2 separate regions of the Homo sapiens genome follow, and region 2 is linked to region 1. The links are contacts of gene promoters, found by promoter capture Hi-C in human tissues and cell types (Jung and others, 2019). All regions are on one chromosome and are shown on one strand. The core of a region is centred on a gene start or on the middle of the fragment in contact, and the rest is flanking DNA. Distances in the headings are between cores, read along the strand shown.

The links. Contacts are between HindIII fragments. The study calls those that stand out against the background at their distance.
Region 2: a fragment that was not itself captured here is called in contact with the fragment with the promoter of NAP1L5 in region 1 in 4 of the 25 tissues and cell types used here (adrenal gland, aorta, dorsolateral prefrontal cortex and 1 more).

What each region holds. Positions count from the first base shown.
Region 1 is chr4:88,695,975-88,699,638 of GRCh38, forward strand. It overlaps NAP1L5 (nucleosome assembly protein 1 like 5), which reads right to left and starts at 1,855. Exons shown (of 1, transcript NM_153757.4): 1 at 1-1,855. The coding sequence starts at 1,780. The coding sequence ends at 1,232. The region is part of intron 23 of HERC3 (HECT and RLD domain containing E3 ubiquitin protein ligase 3); the gene reads left to right. RefSeq lists an enhancer at 1,945-2,004. The HindIII fragment of the contact is 8,909 bases long and covers 1-3,664 here.
Region 2 is chr4:88,747,661-88,751,324 of GRCh38, forward strand. It overlaps FAM13A (family with sequence similarity 13 member A), which reads right to left. Exons shown (of 24, transcript NM_014883.4): 15 at 2,764-2,977; 16 at 2,111-2,249; 17 at 1,292-1,373; 18 at 1-191. Among named protein-coding and RNA genes, the nearest start is that of FAM13A-AS1, 40 kb to the left of the region's middle. The HindIII fragment of the contact is 6,921 bases long and covers 1-3,664 here.

The DNA.
Region 1 (3,664 bases), core at 605-3,104:
TCTTTATAGATCACTGGCTCACACATAATTCAAAACCCACACAGAAGCTAAGAGTCTTTACATTAAATATATTCTTCCTAAAAATCCTTACTGTATGCATCTGTCCTCAAGCAGTAAAATTTGATTATGCACCATTTTATAATTAATATGTCACATTTACATAGCAAAATAATGAAGGCACAGCTAATACAAGCAAACTTAAACCCTTTCTACTTCTGAGCTGGGGGTAGGGGCACACACTTGGATTGGTTCTTCAAGTATATATTTTTTCCAAACATTAGCTTCAGTGAAGAGTTCTGATGATTTTCACAGCTACACCCTAAAAGCTACATGACAGAAAGACGTCACAAGGCGCAAAGTACATAACGCTGGATACACATGCTTTACATAATTTGCTACATTCTACATCTCTTCAAGTAAATTAATATTTCTAAAACGCTAGGTAAAGTGATTTAATACTTAAACATATTTGGGGTATTTTTTACGTGTTTGTAAATAGACAGTACTAAGAAAACACAAACATGAGATTGTAACTAATGAATACATATGTTGACAGTATTTTACAGGTTTTACACCCTCCTTCTTGGAACCATGTTGTTTCTCTAAATTCAAATACTCAAAACATTTTTCAGAACTTGAAATGGCAGTTTTCCTGGCCTTATTAACAGTAGTGTCATGATCTCCATTGCAATCTTCCTCAATGCCATCAATCTCCTGTGAAGTGTAAAGCTGATGTCTGCGTTACAAAAGCAAAGTCTCAAAGATGACGTTTTTCTTGGGTTCTGCCTTCTCTGCACTGCGAAATGTCATGAGTAAAGAAATTTAAGAATTAAGCACTGAGAACGTGTTCAGTCATGGCTTGGGTGTTCCATGTGTAGCGTATGCTGTGTGATGAATGGGTTTCAAAGTGACGTTCTTTACTTCGCATCTGCTAACACCCTTTGTAAACCTCAATCCTCAGAGAAGAGACCATGAAAACATAATTTTGGGTTTAATTCAGTTTTCTTTAACACCTTTTGATATATTTATTATGTTCAAAATGAAAGTCAAATTTGAATCGAGCTGGCCAGGATCTAATTGCTTTAATTTAATCTATTTTAGGAATGTCAGAATAAATTCACATTGTATTTTGGTCAAAAACCTGAGCCTTTTTAAGTCCATCGATATTCTGGGAAAAACAAAACCAGGCTTTTTTCTTCGTGGGCTTTCTCTTCATCCATCTCTGCCCCCCTTACTTCTTGGCGTCATCAGGCATCTCGGCGTGGGCATCGTCATGTTTGGCCCCCGCGGCAGCCTCTGCCGCAGCCTCCTCCTCCTCCTCGTCTTCCCCCTCCTCCTCGTCATCCTCGTACTCCTCTTCCTCCTCCTCCTCCCCCTCCAAGGTCCATGCACACCCCTCCATCTCGCCGGTGAGCTCTTGGATCTTGGCGAGTAGGGGCTTATAGATGTCATTATACTTTTTTTCCAGAGCCTGAAATTCCTTATCAAATTTGGCTTCTATCTTATCGCATCGCTTCTGCAGCTTTTTGAGGGCCAGGACTCGGCATTTCACCGAATTAGGCAGGCTCTCGATAAAGTCATTTTTCGGCTTTGGGGCATTCTCTGCAGGGGTCTGGGGCTCCTCAGCCATCTGACCAGCCGCGCTGTCAGGGTCACCAGCCGCGCTGTCACAGTCTCCACCCTGCGCACCGCCTTCCGCCATTACCTCCTCTGCCGCTGCCTCCGCCGCTGCCGCCGCCTGGCTAGGCTCCGCAGGCCCCTGGTTTTCCGAGTCGGCCATGTTAGAGGAGAAGCCGCAGAGGTCTAGGAGGGCTCCCGCAGAGGCCCTGCACCCGAGCTGGTCCAGAGAGATCTTGCGGATGCGGCAAGTGGCGGTGACGTGCGGCCGCGGGAATGACGTTGGCCGCGGCCCCGCCTCCTGCTTTCGCGGCACTTGACTGGCTTCCCACTATCAGCTGACGGCCGTGTGCTCATACTGCACCAGATTCCTCCTGTTGCTACCCTGACATCTTCTGGGCCCTCAACACCCGCCTGTTGGACAGACACCCTGTTCCCAGCCCACCCATGTACCCACCCCTGTAGAGCTGGGCTGGGAGTGTCAGTAGCTGCCCGAGGTGCTTCTTCAGGAACTGCATAGATGGCCTCAGACCATTTTCCGTGTGCTCCTCACCCCCATCCAGGCCCTTCTACAAATGCCAGTGCATATGTCTTCGCTTTCCTCTGCATCTCTCTCCATAGCTGGCGTTTGATCACCTCTTAGATTCCTCCGCATTCCTCTCCATGCAGTGGAGGAACGGGCAAGCTGGCTCCATTCCACCCCTTTGGGGACCTGGGGTGCATGTGTGTGGATAGGGCAGCTTGCATATCCAAGCTCTGTACCTATGTGTCCACCCAACACCCCCTTGGCCATCCCACACACCTAGCGGCATATATCTTGGTGGCAAGGTCGTCTCTCAGCAGGACTCCCCTGGAAGCAGTTTTGGAGCCATTTGGGTAGGAAATCTCAGAGCTCCCGGTGTCCTGGTGTGTGTTCTAGAAGATCCTACAGAATCTTTGGCCTGTGGGAAGGACTAAAGCTTGAGGAGGGCTGAAAAAAAGCAAGTCTTTCTAAAGCATGGGGCCCAGGGCCAAGGCCCCCTCTTATCTTGGTTAAAGCATGTGCCATCTATCCCACCCCGCTCACATTCGTCTTCCCTGCCTTCCCCCAACACCGTCTGCTTCCCTGCCTTCCCCACTATCTGTTTTCACACCTTTCCACACCACATCTTCTCCCTCCCTCCTGCCCCTCCCCCGCACTGACTTATGCCCCACCTTCTGCCCATCTTCTTCCCCGCCTTCTTCCCCACTCACTGCCTCCTTCCTCACCTTCCCCCCGCCGCACTGTCCTTTTCCCCACCTTCCTCACCCTCTTCTTCCCCACCCTCCTTACCCTCTTCTTCCCCACCTTCCTCACCCTCCTCACCCCCTTCTTCCTCACCCACTGCCTTCTTCCTCACCTTCCCCCCACCGAACTTTTTCCTCACGCTCCTCACCCTCTTCTTCCTCACCCTCTTCACCCTCTTCTTCCTCACGCTCCTCACCCTCTTCTTCCTCACCCTCTTCACCCTCTTCTTCCTCACGCTCCTCACCCTCTTCTTCCTCACCCTCTTCACCCTCTTCTTCCTCACGCTCCTCACCCTCTTCTTCCTCACCCTCTTCACCCTCTTCTTCCTCACGCTCCTCACCCTCTTCTTCCTCACCCTCTTCACCCTCTTCTTCCCCACCCCCTAGCCCCACCCTCTTCCCACCCACCCCCAGCCCCGCCTTCTTCTTCCCCACCCACCCACCCAGCCCCACCCTCTTCCTCCCCACCCACCCACGCAGCCCCACCCTCTTCTTCCCCACCCTGCCCACCATCTTCTTCCCCACGATCTGTCTTCTTCCCCACCTTCCCCCACGGTCTTCACCACCTTCCCCCAACCGTCTTCTTTACCCTGCTCACCATCTTCTTACTGGCTCACCATCTTCTCTGCCTTCTTTCTCACTCCCATATATCATCTCTTTTGATGGCTACAGCTGCCTTGAGATTAGGAATGATGTTTCTCATTTTACAGATAGTAAACTTAGAAGCAAATACAGTGAAATCATCTTACTGCATGTATCACTTAATTGGCAGATGCAGGGG
Region 2 (3,664 bases), core at 822-3,321, 52 kb after region 1:
TCGCTTCTCCTGGAGCTTCCTCTGAATAGATTCCAATGTGGCTTCAACACTGGGCTTTATTGCTTTATCCACCAGCTCTTGCTTCTTCTCATCTTCTTTCTCAAGTTGGGAACCAAAACTCTTGGGGAGTGTGTTGCTTCGCTGCCGCATCCTGGGAGTTAGGTCCTCTTCAGATATCTTTAGTTTTGATTCTAGTTGAGAAGATTTGGGGGTAAAGATATATGAGATTTATTTATTTATTTATTTTGAGATGGAGTCTCGCTCTGTCGCCCAGGTTGGAGTGCAGTGGCACGATCTCGGCTCACTGCAAGCTCCGCCTCCTGGGTTCACGCCATTCTCCTGCCTCAGTCTCCTGAGTAGCTGGGACTACAGGTGCCCGCCACCACGCCCGGCTAATTTTTTTTGGTATTTTTAGTAGAGACGGGGTTTCACCATGTTAGCCAGGATGGTCTCGATCTCCTGACCTCATGATCCTCCTGCCTCGGCCTCCCAAAGTGCTGGGATTACAGGCGTGAGCCACTGCGCCCGGCCTGATATATGAGATTTGATGTCTGCCCAACACAAATTGTTTTTCTGTAGTATCAATAACTTATTCTTTTTTCAGAGAGTATCTAGTTACAGTATCAGTAGAAATCCCTGAATTATTATGTAAAACCTGAGAGAATGGTAACATTTTCTTTGATTACATGGAATGTTTCCCTAACACTAATTGCTGAGAAAGCTTTAGCCACATCAGCCTGTATGATGCTCTCAGAATGTGGCATCCTTGCTCCTTCAGTGGTTAAAGGTATTTAGTGATCTAATGCCCAGCCACTGGCCAACCTTTTCTGTATGACTTACACACCTTATTCTGAAATTAGGTTCACTTTGTATTCTATTTAGTTGTTTACATGACTGTGTCTCTGAAAAGATGGGAATCTCTTTGAGGGATGGAGGCCATACCCTTTGCAGATTCATCTCTGTGTCTACTTGTTTGCTTCTACCACCACAGCAAATGGAGACTTGGATTAAACAGGTGTTGAGAGATGCTGACTTGAAACCATCATCCTTCTATTAGTGATCCAGGGAAATGAAGAAATGCTGCAGAATTCGCCTCTTAGCTGATCGGGTTGCCCTGTGACTGAGACCATGTGAAGACCTGGGGAAGTGGTCACTCTGAATAGCTGAGAGTGCTGGGAAGCATCTTTAAGGACCGGGGAATGCCTTAGCAGTGGCACTCAGTGGGAGAGGAGGTGAGAGATTCTGCACCTGGCTTGTTGTACAGAAGCCACAGCTCCAGAATTTTACCCACCTTTAAGTTGTCTCCGGAATTTGGCAAGGTCATTTGTCCATTTCAGAACCTCCGGATTGGCTGCTTTGTCACTGTGGGAAGGCTGAGAAAAGGAAGTCTAGAGTAAATGCTTTGGAACTGGAGCAGGGAAAGTAAGAAGTGTTTGATGATCATTTTTGTTTTAAATAGGAAGGAAAAGTTGAGCCCCATCAGAATAAGAAATTAAACACGACCAATCAGAGCAAATGTCACAAATGTAATTCCATTATCCTTCTTTATATTTGGTTATTGTGATGCTTTCAAAAAATTCCTCAGAGGCAAAATGCATCTTTATGATCAGTGACTTCTGTGAGGTCCATGACCCCCTTGCCATTATTTGTAGGGTTCAACCTGTAAGACGAACAGTGTAGAAAACAGAGGGGTATATGATGTTTTGCTCAGCAACCGTCACAAAAATGCCTTTTTGCCACTCTTGTGGTACAGAGCTGACAGCAGAACGAGCTCAGTGCTAACAAGATTTCAGAAGATAATATTGAATTAAATTTTAGTCAAACAAAGGATTTCATTCAACAATTTCTCCAGTTCCTGCTTACTGATTAATTTATAAAATGTAGACTTAAGCTTTCATTTTTTTTTTTGTAAGAATACACTTGTGCAAGGAAAATGCTGATACATAATGACTGGGGTTTATCAGGGTGTACTATCCAGGGTTTACTGCCTTTTTGTTGTAAGATTCCCTAGAAGCCTCCCTTAACCTTTCGTCGTTTCTTTGAGTTGCTGAAATGCTGCCATGTCCAGGGAGAGGATGAGGCGAAAAGAACAGTGTGAGGGGACACTTACTCTGTACTTCTTCTCTTCTTCGAATCTATCTTCAAACTTCCGGATCTTCTTTTTAAGGCTCTGAATCCTTCGTGTGAGCTGGGCAGGTGTCAGGTCCTCTTGCTCATCATCATAGGACCCCAGAGAGGAGCTTCGCCGCCTGTGAAGAGTACGACTTGGGTCAGTTTCCCCAGGAGCAGTCACTGCTTGCCTAGAGGGGCCCTGGGGAAGTGGGACACCATGTGGCATGCGGTGGTGGGGTGGGGGCAGTGCGGAGACAAAACAGCCTCTCTCCTCTTGAATAAAAGACACTTGAGTGATCCATTGGAGCTTGGTATGTCCCACCTATTAAGTACATCTAGGCTTTCTAGCTCACATTTATAATTAGCAAAGTAGGACTGGACATCAACCTTTCCTGTGGGCCTACAAGAGCTGAATTGGAGAGCGCTTTGGAAAGGAGACGCTAAGAAAATTCAATATGTGATGTTGCAGTTGGGCCACAGCTCAAATGGGAAACTACAACATGGCCTGTGTCCTAGGATGGAGAATTTCAAATATGTTGCTCCATAGGCTCACGACTTAATTAAAAAAAATTATTCACTATCAGTGCCATTCCTCTTTTCTGATGTTGTGGGGATGATGCATTTGTCTATCAGCAACACAGAGAAACATACCTCATGAAAGAATGGGAGTTTGGTGGGGAAGGAGGCACTTCTGTGTCATCCAGGTATTGCCTGCTCTGCCCATAAGCGTAGAACCGAGGAGAGAGCATGGGGTCGCTGTCTTCGTCCAGCAGCTGACGGATCAGGCGCCCAGCCTGCGGCGAGAGGTGGGCTTCATCAGAGTCACTGTTCTCCCGCTGCCAGGAGGAGAAAGCAGGGATAGGCTCTGGAAGATAAGGGCAGTAAGATCAGGACTGTTCCTGAAAGAGGTCAGGGTTGTTCTTTAAAACACAAGTGTTTCCCAGGCTTCCCAGATGCTTTAGGAAGCTGCCCATTGAATCGTTTCTCATTTTACAGCTAAGGTCCAGGCTAAGGACACCGCGCCCCAACTGAAATCACCAATATGTCTGACAGCCATCATCTGTCTACCTCTCGTTTCCATTCTCACTGGCTTTCCAAAGAGAATTTGCTAGGCTACCCTGAGGAGCAGCCTTGAAGGGGGGAAGCCCAGTCAATTAGTGATAAAAACTCTTCCACGTGATGGCATCAATGAAAAGAAAATGTGCATGCCTGTAATCCCAGCACTTTGGGAAGCCAAGGCGGACGGATCACCTGAGGTCAGGAGTTTGAGACCAGCCTGGCCAACATGGTGAAACTCTATCTCTACTAAAAATACAAAATTTAGCTGGGCGTGGTGGCGGATGCCTGTAATCCCAGCTACTGGGGAGGCTGAGGCACGAGAATTGCTTGAACCCAGGAGGTGGAGTTTGCAATGAGCAGAGATTGCGCCACTGCACTCCAGCCTGGGCGACAGAGTGAGACTTTGTCTCAAAAAACAAACAAGCAAACAAAAAAAAACAAAGAAAAGAAAATGTGTTGGTGGGGGAGATATTTGGTATCACGGCTGTACATC